Regions from separate parts of the Homo sapiens genome. Here region 1 is linked to region 2. Evidence: promoter capture Hi-C in human tissues and cell types (Jung and others, 2019). All regions are on one chromosome and are shown on one strand. The core of a region is centred on a gene start or on the middle of the fragment in contact, and the rest is flanking DNA. Distances in the headings are between cores, read along the strand shown. Region 1 overlaps ZNF160 (zinc finger protein 160). Region 2 holds the start of ERVV-1 (endogenous retrovirus group V member 1, envelope).

What was found. The method cuts DNA at HindIII sites, captures the fragments that hold promoters and counts their contacts. A contact is called where the count stands out against the background at its distance.
Region 1: a contact is called between a fragment that was not itself captured here and the fragment with the promoter of ERVV-1 in region 2, in 5 of the 25 tissues and cell types used here (bladder, dorsolateral prefrontal cortex, heart right ventricle and 2 more).

The regions. Positions count from the first base shown.
Region 1 is chr19:53,093,056-53,099,339 of GRCh38, reverse strand. All of the region lies in intron 1 of ZNF160 (zinc finger protein 160), which reads left to right. Among named protein-coding and RNA genes, the nearest start is that of ZNF160, 7.2 kb to the left of the region's middle. The HindIII fragment of the contact is 5,693 bases long and covers 1-5,396 here.
Region 2 is chr19:53,010,424-53,015,900 of GRCh38, reverse strand. It overlaps ERVV-1 (endogenous retrovirus group V member 1, envelope), which reads right to left and starts at 1,980. Exons shown (of 1, transcript NM_152473.3): 1 at 1-1,980. The coding sequence starts at 1,810. The coding sequence ends at 377. All of the region lies in intron 1 of LOC124904758 (a long non-coding RNA gene), which reads left to right. The HindIII fragment of the contact is 3,820 bases long and covers 972-4,791 here.

The DNA.
Region 1 (6,284 bases), core at 1,301-3,800, 83 kb before region 2:
ATCAAAACCTTTCCTGTCTCAGTCTTTGTCCCTCCTCTTACCCTATGTCCCCAAATCATCACAGCTCTGTCCCTTTCTTCTCCTTCGGGTCTAGCCTCAGAGCTGTCTTCCACCCTCTTGCACCCCCATCTGAAATTCTCTCTGCCTGTCAGTCTCTACCACGTTACTCAGGTTTCACTGTCTCCGCATCCATCACCACATCGGACACTCTTCTGCATGGATTATTTTGAGTGTTTTGTGTCTCCATCTTGGCCACGGGACGACTGCAGCACCTGCTCTGGGGTTGTGGTTCAGATGCTGGGGCTGGGGTCGGGCTGAGGAGTCCTCAGGGAAGACCAAAAGGATAGGGCGGGTAGTGAGGATGGTCTCATATTCTGGAAATTTCATCCGTAATTGGTCTAAACTTCCTGTGGCTATTTATTCCAGTCTATGTAAGAGCAGAAGGCCTCACTGAGGCCTGAAAAGCCCCGCAGACCCTGTGTCCTCAGCCAGTGCCGAGGCGTCCCCACCGCCTTACTCCAGCTCCCGGGTCTTCCGCGCTCTACACATCACCGGGGCCCGGTGGCCATCCTGGGCAGGGGCTTTGCCTTCCAGCAGGTGATGCGCTCGCAGTCAGGGGTCCTGGATTCCCTTCAGGAAGGGTGGCGAGAAGTTCAGAAGCTAAGTGGGCCATGAAGGAGGCACTCCCTAAACAGCGGGGGAATTTTGCAGGGGACTGTGAGTGGAGAGACAAGGGGACAATGGCAGCCTCCCTCATGAGATCTGGGGCCTCTCTTTTTCTTGGACATCCTCCGCCAGCTCAATCCGGCCAATCTTCACCTGCCTTTAAACTGGATTCCATGGTGTCCCCAAATTGGGGGCAATTCCTTCCAGCATGGCCAACTTCTAGAATCTAGACTTGAGGCCCACTGTCCTGCAGATAGCAGTTTGTGTCCATTCCTGCCGCATCGCTTGTGTCCAGAGGCCTTTCAATCCAGTGTGCTTCTCAGGCTGGAAGAGAAGTAGAAAAATGGGGACAGGTGAAGAAGTCCTTAGAGGTGTGGAGTGAGGCGTGGAAGCAATGCTGAGCCTCTAGAGGAGCTGGATGAATGCTGCATGCACCTGGCCCACAGGTGACTGTGGGCTCACGGGATGTGTGGCACACTTGGAAAGAAGTCTCAGGTCTGGCTGTAGCACCTGGAAGTGGGTTTTGGGGTGGTTGTGGGGCTGCAGGATCATTTTGTAATGCCCTGATGTCTCAGCTCAGGTTACCTGGGAAACAGATGCTGACACAGAGATTTGCATGCAGGAATTTAATTCGGAAACTCATCATCACAGTGAAGAGGACTGAAGGCAGTGGAATCAGGCAGAGAAAAACATCCCGAAGTGTACTTAGAACCAAGACCTAAGCTGAGCCCAGAGGGAGCTTCAGCAGCAGGAGGATGGGCGCCTTGGCCTGAGGGTGTGGATCCCAGAGCTGCTCCACAGCATCCGCTCCACGGGGTGATTTCTGTGGAGGCTTTGGGAAGTGCAAAAACCATCCTGAAACCCATAGAGGAAAGATAGGAAGAATCTCAGAGATTATTTTCTGGGTTGCCTTTGGCATTCGGGGTATTTTCAGTTGCAGATCAATAAGCTTTCAGTTGTGTTTTGGAAGATGAAATGATCATTTGGAGTGTTTCCTTTCCTGATGTTGGGGTCTAATTGCATCATTAGAGACATCTCTGTTTTATTGGTAGGTTTCAGTGGTATTCCCCTGTGGGGTGGAGTCACTATGAGTGGAAATACGTTGCCCTGGGTCAGTGAGTTCCTGGGGTGTTTGTGTATATTATTCCATGAGTTACTGGGGCTTGTGAGATTTCATAACAGGGCTTCTGGATCTTTATGAAGTATCTGGGGATTGTGGGATCTTTATGAAGTATATGGGGAGTGTGGGAGTTTGTAAGCGTGTCTGAGTCCAGAGGGCAACGGGGATCCTAAGAATCAGGCGCAGATGGCTTTCATTAGGGAGGGTTTGTTGTGGGGGCGTCTGTGGGTGCAACTCAAGAGGGAGTGATTATCAGGGTCCCAGAGTAAGGGAAAGATTTCTCCAAGAATCAGAGTGAAACACAGCACACTGACCTGCGGCCCAAAGGCTTCCACTGGGACTGTCCTTGGGAAGATAAAGCTGCCACATTCTTGCAGCCAGGCCGGTGGCCTCTCCCTGTTTATTCCAAGATAACAGAGTCACAGAGTCACAAGGCAGCTGGGGAGCTGAGGGGCAAGGTCCTTGAAACCCGCTGTGGAACATGGACCTTTCTCCAGTGCAGAGGGGCCACGGGGCCCTGGGAAGGGAGTTGGAGGGTTACAGCCCTGGTCATGGCAGGGAGACGCAGGAACTGGAGGCAGGAAGAGCTGTGTTCATCCCCACAGGGTGCCCCTCCGCTCAGGAATTTGTGCAATAGAATGGGGTGAGCTAATGGGGTCACATTTAGGGAAAGGAGTCTTTCTGTCCACCCAACACACATCTCATCCTATGCACACGCTTCTCCCTTTCCCCGTTGTCCTCTCTATGATGGGAAACTAATGCTTCCCCAGGCGGGTGATTGAGGGAGAGGACGGGTTGGTCTGTTTGTCTCTCTCCTTTCTCCCCTCCCTCAGGTCTCCTGCCTGCCTTTCTGCTGCTCTGTTCAGACTCTCACTTCCTGCAGTTCTGCAGTCAGTTTGCCCCACGCAAGACCCAAGGATCTGGGTCTGTGAATAATATTCAAGCCAACATCATTGCCAAGTGAGAAATCTTAGACCCCAGGACCTTTTTTCCATGGAGGGGCCTGGGCACAGAGACAAACTCTTCTTTTTGCAGAATTTAGGGTCTTTTATTGGCCACGTGGGTCTGCTGAGCCTCAGACAGGGATCCCATAGTCAGCCAGATGTGTTTCTGGGTGGACTTGCGCTTGCCCTTCCACAGGTTGGTAAGCAGAGTGGTCTCCATGAAGGGCCCTTGGCTCTGCCCCTCAGTTAGTCCTGCTCAGCTCCCTTCTCACGAAAAAGACCACCCCAAGGACAAACATGCAGTCCACCCCTGCATACATCAGTCTCCCAAAGTGAAGACCATAAAAATGGCCTAATATTTCATTCATTCATTCAGTTATTTATTTATTTTGAGACGGAGTCTCGTTCTGTCTCCCAGGCTGGAGTGCAGTGGTGCGATCTCAGCTCACTGCAACCTCTGTCTCCTGAGTTCAAGCAATTCTCCTGCCTCACCCTCTGGAGTAGCTGGGACTACAGGCATGTGCCACCACTCCTGGGTCATTTTTTTGTATTTTTAGTAGAGACAGGGTTTTACCATGTTGGTCAGCTGGTCTTGAACTCCTGACTTCATATGATCTGCCCACCTCGGCCTCCCAAAGTGCTGGGATTACAAGCATAAGTCACCGCACCTGACCATATATCATTTCCTTTTAATTATTTACTTATTTAATTTTTACTACACTCCCATTTTAGCAATACTAATATTTCATTTAATGTTGCTATTATTATTTACTGTTATTGAGACAGAAGCTTTGTGTTAGACGCTGATCTCATGTAACGTGACTCTTTTATAATTGTGCTTAGGATTCCACGGGAGATGAGTGAATAAACGACTGAACATTGTGCATAAACAGACAATTTATATATTCATAAGATTAAGACATTTTGTATTCCTCATCCGTTATGCAAAGCAAAGACTAGACACTCTGGAGTCATCTCTCATGAGAACAAACCTGCGGACAGCTGGGAAGCACACCAGCCACCAACTGGGAGTATTAAAAAGAGCAATCCAGTCTCCAAATCAAGGGGAGGGTTCAAATCATAGACAAGCTGCAGAGCCACCGGGTCTCAGAGTTTCCCGCGGAAACGCTGGGACTCGCTACCAATCCCATGAGCGCACCTGGGGATTTTAACGTCTGGTGGGATGGTGGATTCCGAGTGTGGTTGGACAGGGCTGGAGTGCCCTGAAAGGCCTGAATGCTCTCCTGCCGGTGAGAAAACTGGAAGCGGATTCTGGGAGGGAGCTGTCGCCAGCGAGAGGCGGGTCTTGGATAGTGGGGAGAGGCCAGGTGGGGAGGGTGGAAGCCACCGTGAGGTGGGGTCTGGGCAATGGGAAAGGGGTGCAAGAGGGTCGTGTGGGAGGGTGGAACTGCTGTGGGCGGGGCCTGGGCAGTGGGGAGGGGGCGGGGTGAGGAGGGTGAAAGTCGCCCTGGGGTGCGGTCTGGGCAATGGGAAAGGGGTGGAAGAGGGTGGGGTGGGAGGGTGGGACTACCGTGGGGGCGGGGCCTGGGCAGTGGGGAAGGGGTGGGGTGAGAAGGGTAAAAGTCGCCCTGGGCTGGGGTCTGGGCAACGGGAAAGGGCTGGAAGAGGGCGGCGGGATGGGAGGGTGGAAGCTGCTATGGTGCAGCCTGGGCTGTGGGAAGCGGGCAGGGCCGGGAAAGGAGCGGGCCTGGGCTCTCTACTCCTCTTGGCCCCAGGTCATTTTCTGCTATGTCAGCCTTTCTCTCCACTAGGACTGGATCAACAGCATTGCACTGCTAAAATAAAGTTTCAGCTAATTGAAATTAGCCGGGGATGCTTCCTGCTTATTTTCAGTTAATAAGCAGGGATGCTTCCGGCTTATTTTCAGTCCAGGGACGCTTCCTGCTTATTTTCAGTTAATCCAACATTTCAAACAATTTAAGGCAAAAGAACAGAATGGTACTGGGCCACTTAATTGAAGGCTAAGGTTTTTTTACTCTTACATTGAAAACGATTTAAGTGAAAAACTCATTTTGTTTGCAGGTGGAGACAGGCATCCTACCATTAAGAGGATCACAACTCATCTTAGCTCAGGGTACCAGGAGGGGTGCAGGGGCATCAGCGGATGGTCCCTGTGGGGCAGTGGTTTCATCCTGGAACTGGCAATTAGAACCGTTTAATTAATCCGGGACCTGATTTGTCTGTTTAGAGGATGAAACGAAGGTGAAATTTCTACTTGTGCTGTGTTCAGTTTCATAGTGACAACGATCGGAACATCGTTTCCATTTCTATTTGCCAGGCACCGGGATGGAAGAAAGAGAACTCTGGGCTTAGGTCCAGGGGCGTTTCAAGGACCCTGGACCAGGGTGTGTGGAGGAACGGTATCTGGTAATTTAGGTCGCCAACCATTCCCTTAAACATAAAGAATACTTTTTAAAATAGAGGAATTATAGGGAAAATCTCAGAGATAAATTTCTGGGTTACCTTTGGTATTTTGGAGTATTTTGTGTTGTAGATCAAGAAGCTTTCGGATGCATTTTGGAAGATAAAATAGTTTGGAGTGTTACCTTGTATGATATCGGGGTCTCATTGGAGCATGTGCATCACTAATGCCTTGTTTCCTTATCTTTCAATTGTTGATCTATTACACAATTGTAAGGGAATTTTAAATGTATATGGCTTTGAAATGAAGTTGGTGCATCTCATTTTTTCAATTAGCTGAAATTTTCCTTTAGCAGTTAATGATGTCTCTTATGTGTGACAGGAACATTCAGTACACCCACAGTGAAGGCTGAGTGCCCTTCAAAGCTTTTTTCTTCTGTTTTTTGTTTTTTGAGACAGGCTCTGTCACCCAGGCTGGAGTGGTGCGATCATAGCTCACTGCAATCTCACACTCACTTCAGCCTCCTGAATAGCTGGGACTATAGACATGCACCACCACACCTGGATAATTTCTAAATTTTTTTGTATAGATGGGGTCTTACTATGTTGCCCAGGCTGGATTCAGTGCCGAGTCTCAAAGGCCAAGGTACCAGGGCAAGTTCATTAGTTTTGAGTTTCACTTGGTGTTATGTGTTGACAATGTAGAAGCCGATTTTGACCCTGTAATCCTAGCAGATAGCAAAGGTTAAGCCTCCCCCTTCCATCCTTTCTTCTTTTTTTTTGTTTTTTTAGATGGAGTCCTGCTCTGTTGCCCAGGCTGGAGTGCAGTGGCACGATCTTGGCTCATTGCAGCCTCTGCCTCCCAGGTTCAAGTGATTCTCCTGCCTCAGCCTCCCTAGTAACTGGGATAACAGGCGCTGCCACCGCGCCTGGCTAATTTTTGTATTTTTAGTAGAGACAACGTTTCACCATGTTGGCCAGGCTTGTTTTGAACTCCTGACCTCAGGTGATCCACCTGCCTCGGCCTCCCAAAGTGAAGTGCTGGGATTACAGGCATGAACCACCGTGCCCGGCCAGAAATATCCTTTTTAAATCTCTTGTGAATATGTTGATTTTGCTTCAATGAAAATGTATAAGCATTTAAACTCTGCATATACAAAATGGATTCATGG
Region 2 (5,477 bases), core at 731-3,230:
TCAGCGGGCTGCATTTCTAAAGATTCCTTTCCCAGGGGCTTCCTTGCCTGCTCTTGTCTGGCTACCTGCCTACCCTAACAGTATTCCCCCTCAAGAGTTGGAGACCCTGAAAAGCTTTGGGCATAAGGACGTCGTGGGTCTTCTGTAACTACTTCCTGCTGACGTGGGACGAAGAAGTCATCAGGGTCTCCCTCTCTTGCTCTCTGTCAGGGAAGGAGCCCCTCCGTAGTTGCAGAATCTTTGCCCACTGGCATCCAAGGGAGATATGTACTTGTAGGTGCTGGGACCTCCAAGGAAGATTGGATGATCTCTTTCCATTTTTAGGGGCTCTGTGTGAAATTGCCATATCCTGGAAGAGACATATTTAATTAGTGAATTATAGAGACAAGGGCCAAAGAGGAGAAAGCAGGCTATTAAGTGCAGCTGGTCCCAGTAAAGGGACAAACCATGTGAGGGAGGGGAGGGCAGACTTCACAGCCTCCCAAATGGACCCTGCTGAATCACCTTTTCCAAAGTTATGGAGCCACGTAACCTCATCATAGATCTTTTTTATATCCTCCTCTATCGCCCCACTGTTATTGACATAAATGCAACAGGATTTACTGATCACTGCACAGACTCCACCCTGCTCTGCTAAGAGGTAATCTAAGGCCAATCTGTTGTTCATGACTACATTTGCTAGAGAATCTATGGAGGCCTTGAGTTTAGAGATGCTATCTCTGGTACTCTTAGCTATGTTGTCTATTTGTCTGGAGAGATTTCTGAGGGTGACATCATGATAAGTGAACCCTCCCCATGGGGCGATCATTCCTATGGCCGCACCCATCCCTGCCAGTATTAGACCCAGAGCTCTTTTCTGTCTGGGTTGGGTGGTGTTATAAATGGTCACACCTATCCCCCGTGGTCCCAAAAGTCCCACAGCACATTCTCCCGTATGTTGGATGTTATTAATGCAAGTGTAGAGGTTTGCCACAGGGGGGGTTGAATAAGTTATCTTAGGACTTCCATCAAAGGGCAGTTTATTTTTTTGTGGCCCACATAAAAATACATAGCCAGGAGGGGTACAGGCCCACCGGGGGATGTGGCTGTCGAACCACTTGTGTAACTGCGATTTCCACCCTGCTGGAATAGTTTGATTGCATGCAGGGGATAGAGGCCCTCCCAGGGGAACAGTAGATTTTGGCCATGTGGGGACAGTGTGTGCCTTGGGAAGCAAATATAGAACCCTCCATGTGATTAGCTCTTTTCCTTCCCAAGCTGCACAGCGGTTTTGGGGTGACTTGTCTCGATAATCGTTCATTTGTTTAGCTGGACACCAGTGAGTCAAGTTAGGGTGGCAGCCTGCTGGGGAGAAGCTCATGGGATGGATGGTGGGACTGGGGAATCCCTCCTCAGAGGTGTTCTTCCTGTCACAGTGTCCTTCAGGGCATGGACAACAGGTTTGGTTTAGAGAAGAGCAGTTGTAGAAATAGAAAGAAGTTTTAGAGCTTTGATTGAAAGGTGGAGTGAGATCCAGGCAGGGGACTTGGTGCGCTGAGTTAGCAAGCGAAACCTGGAGCGGAACAGATTTATGTTGGCCTTCAGGGATTCCTGAACCAAATGTTAGGTTTAAAGAAAAATTTCTTACCAAAATATATTGGTAAGATGAGGACCTGGTGATGAAGTTGTGGCAGATCCAACAGTTGCTTAGATGGTTTCCCGAAGCAATTATTTTGGAAAAACTGACAAGGGAATTTTCATTCCACTGTGCCTGTGAGAGTAGGGGCATGGGAAGGAGGGAAAGATAAAGGAAAAGGAATTTCTCTGTCATAGCTGATTCTCCCTTAAGCTTTGTGAAAGCAAAAGGAAAGTGCTGAAAATAGGAGAGACAAATAATGAAATGGTTCGATGGAGTGTTTAGTGAGAAATCAGGCTGTTATCGGGACTTCAGGTGGCATGCCAGTGTGGGTCAAAATAAGGAGAAGAACCGATGCCACCGCAACCAAGATTCCCCGTACTGAGAGACCTTTTTTTGAGGTGAAAGGAGAGAAGGCTTTACTTATCTTTTCACTTGAAGAGGAATTGGAAGCTCTCCAGTGGCTGGCTCATGAGACTACTCAGATGCTGATTCTGTTGTTGGTTCTTCGGGACCTTCTCACAGTTTTACTCAGGAGTGATGTATCCAACTAGAGATTCCAGAAACTTTGATAGCTGTCGGGGTAGAAAGTAATAAAGGGGCCTTTCCATAAAGGAGAGACCCAGGCTAGTTGAGACCTGGGTGACCCATCTCTCCAGGTTTTGATGAGGACTTGTGACCCTGGCTAGTATAAGGGTTGATTACTGGAGGGGTCAGTGGCAGGCAGTACCTTTTGCTCAAACTCCTGGATGGCTTGTTGAAATTGGGCCAGTGATGTTATGTATTTGATTAATTGGGTAACTTCTGGATCTAACATTAGGTCTGCATGTAGGAAGGCATAAGTAATATTAGGGGTCATGCTCAGAACAGTGCTACGGACAGGAGTTCTAACCATGGTGAGGAGGTTTCCTGGCACACTTTGTTCAGGGTCCTTTTAATAGTTTGATTAGTGCTTTCTACCTTGCCAGAGGAATGTGTTCTCCAGGAGTGCTAGGAGTACTTTATTTCTAGGGCTTTTGTCACTAATTAAAGGGTGCGTGAAATAAAAACTGGGCCGTTGTCACTTTGTAAACACAAACTAAACCCACACTGAGGGGTGATTTTTTTTTTCTTTTTGTTTTTGAGACGGAGTCTCGCTCTGTTGTCCAGGCTGGAGTGCAGTGGCACAATCTCAGCTCACCACAAGCTCCACCTCCCGGGTTCACACCATTCTTCTGCCTCAGCCTCCTGAGTAGCTGGGACTATAGGCGCCCGCTACCACACCCACCTAATTTTTTCTCTTTTTTAGTAGAGACAGGATTTCACTGTGTTAGCCAGGATGGTCTCAATTCTCTGACCTCGTGATCCGCCTGCCTCGGCCTCCCAAAGTGCTGAGATTACAGAAGTGAGCCACCACGCCCGGCCGGGATGATTTTTTTTTTTTTTTTAAGAAGTACCTTGGCTACTTCCTGGGCCTTTTCTGTTCTTGTAGGAAAGGCTTTAACCCACCCAATAAAGGTGTCCACAAACACCAGAAGGCATTTATAGCCTCTACAGGCTGGCAATTGAGTGAAATACATCCATCAGTCTTTCCCTGGGTAAGCTTCCCAATGCTGAACTGGCTCAACTAAGCAGGACAGGGAGCTGCATTGGCTCTGGCCGGTTGTCCTGGGTCACAAGGAGGCAAGGCTACGCGTTTGAGGCCAACCTGGGCAACATTGAACAAAAAAAAAAATTTGGCTGGGCACGGTGGCTCATGCCTGTAATCCCAGCACTTTGGGAGGCCGAGGCAGGCGGATTACCTGAGGTTGGGAGTTCAAGACCAGTCTGACCAGCATGGAGAAACCCCATCTCTACTAAAAATACCAAAAAAAAAAAAAAATTTTTTTTGGTCTTTTTTTGGTGGCACCTGCCTGTAATCCCAGCTACTCAGGAGGCTGAGGCAGGAGAATCGCTTGAACTTGGGAGGGAGAGATTGCGATGAGCTGAGATCACGCCGTTGCACTCCAGCCTGGGTACTAAGAGTGAAACTTTGACTCAAAAAAAAAAAAAAAAAAAAAAAAAAGCAGGGCAGCGTAGGGCCCTGGGGGCTATTACAGGCACAGGATGCACAGGTGTTAAAGACCTGACAAATAGTCTAGTAGAGCCCTTTCCTGGAAAAGAGGTTTTTGCACATGTGCTGGAGATGATGTCTCCCAAAGTGACATGACTCATGGAGTGCTCTCACAAGTTTTTACTGGAGGGCCTAGGAAAGTGGAGAATTCCTCCCACTGTATACCACACCTCAGGTTCTCGGGTAGATTCATATTTGATAGCCCATTCCTTTTCCTCTTGGGTTTTTGTGGGTGGGTAAGGTGTTGGGTAAAGATGGGTTAAGGGCCATGAGGAGTTCCCTACAGGGTAGTGGTCCTGGCTGTTTGATCCACCCTCCTGTTTTGCTGGGCATTTTCTCCCTGGTCCTTTGGTGTCCCTGGCCATGGACTACAGCTATTTCCTGTGATAGGTGTACAGCTTAGAGCAGGGCCAGGATCTGTGGTCCACATTCCTTAGGGGTATCTTTTGCTGGTAAAAATCCCTGTTCCTTCCAGATGGCCACATGAGCATGGAGTCCTGAGAGGGCATATTTTGAATCTGTATAAATTGTAGCTTTTGGGTTTTTCCCTATTTCTATGGCTCTAGTTAAGGAAATGAGCTCTGCTAGCTGTGCCAATGTTCTTGGAGGAAGGGATTTGGCTTCTATAATGTCAAATAGAGACACTATTGCATAACTGCATGTGTCACTCCATGTTGGATGAAACTGCCGCCATCAGAAAACCAGACTTAATCAGGGTTCAGTAGTGGAGAACCCTTTAAATGTTTTCTACCAGCAGAATAGATTTCCTGTGTTGCAGGGAGAGTTACAGACTTTAACAGGCCATGTCTAAGGAATGGGTTAATGATAGGCTCAAGTCCTTCTGTTGCCTCTGGCCATAGCGAGTATTGTTTCTTATGAAAGAAGTGGAAGGTTTTCTTAGCTGGATTTTGACTGGGACTGCAGTTATTGCCCTTCCTAGTGTATCAAAGCCCATATCTCAGGGTTATTTGTGATTCCAGATCAAGATAATTCAGCAATGTCATGGGTGAGTCTTCCAAAAAAAAAGAAAGCCTTTCAGGGAAGTTCAGGTAAATGTGAAGCGTGCCCCTAGTTTGGAGAGTATATCCCTGCCCTAAAGACGTATGGGACATTCAGACAGTATCAGGAACTCATGGGAAAAGATTAATTGGTCTTTTAACAATAAAGAAGGTGTAAATCTTAGGAAGAGATGCCATTTACCCTGATTACCTGACAGAGGAAAGTTGCCTAGAGAAGGGGGTCAGCACCGAGCAGGCTGCTCTCAAATCAAATAGAAAATGTATTGTCCTACCTGCTACATCCAGAGTTGCCCTGGGCTCCATCCCTTTGATGATGATGTCACATCTGGGAGCTGGCCAAGGCAGAGGGCACCCTCAGCTCAAAGCCATCATTGGCTCAGGGGCCCTTTTGGCTCTCGGGACAGTTCTCTTTCCAGTACCTGAGCTTACGGCAGAGGGGACAGGCCGTGCAGGGCTTTTCCCCCCTTGGCCCGTAGGGGCAGTTTGCCTTCCAATGGCCCGGCTTCCCGCACTGATAGCAGTTCCCTGGGAAGGTATCCTTAGGGCAACCTGGAGGGGGCTGGTGAACTTGCAAAGCAGCTAGTAATTGAGCCTGCCTCTCTTCTTTCTGTTTTTCCTTCCTCTCGGCCCTGTCCCTCTCATCCTGGTCTCGGTTATAAAACACTGAGGAAGCGAATTTGAGGATTTCTGACATGGGGGCTCTAGTTCCCAAAGCCAGCATTCGCAGTTTTCTCCTAATGTCTGGGGCAGC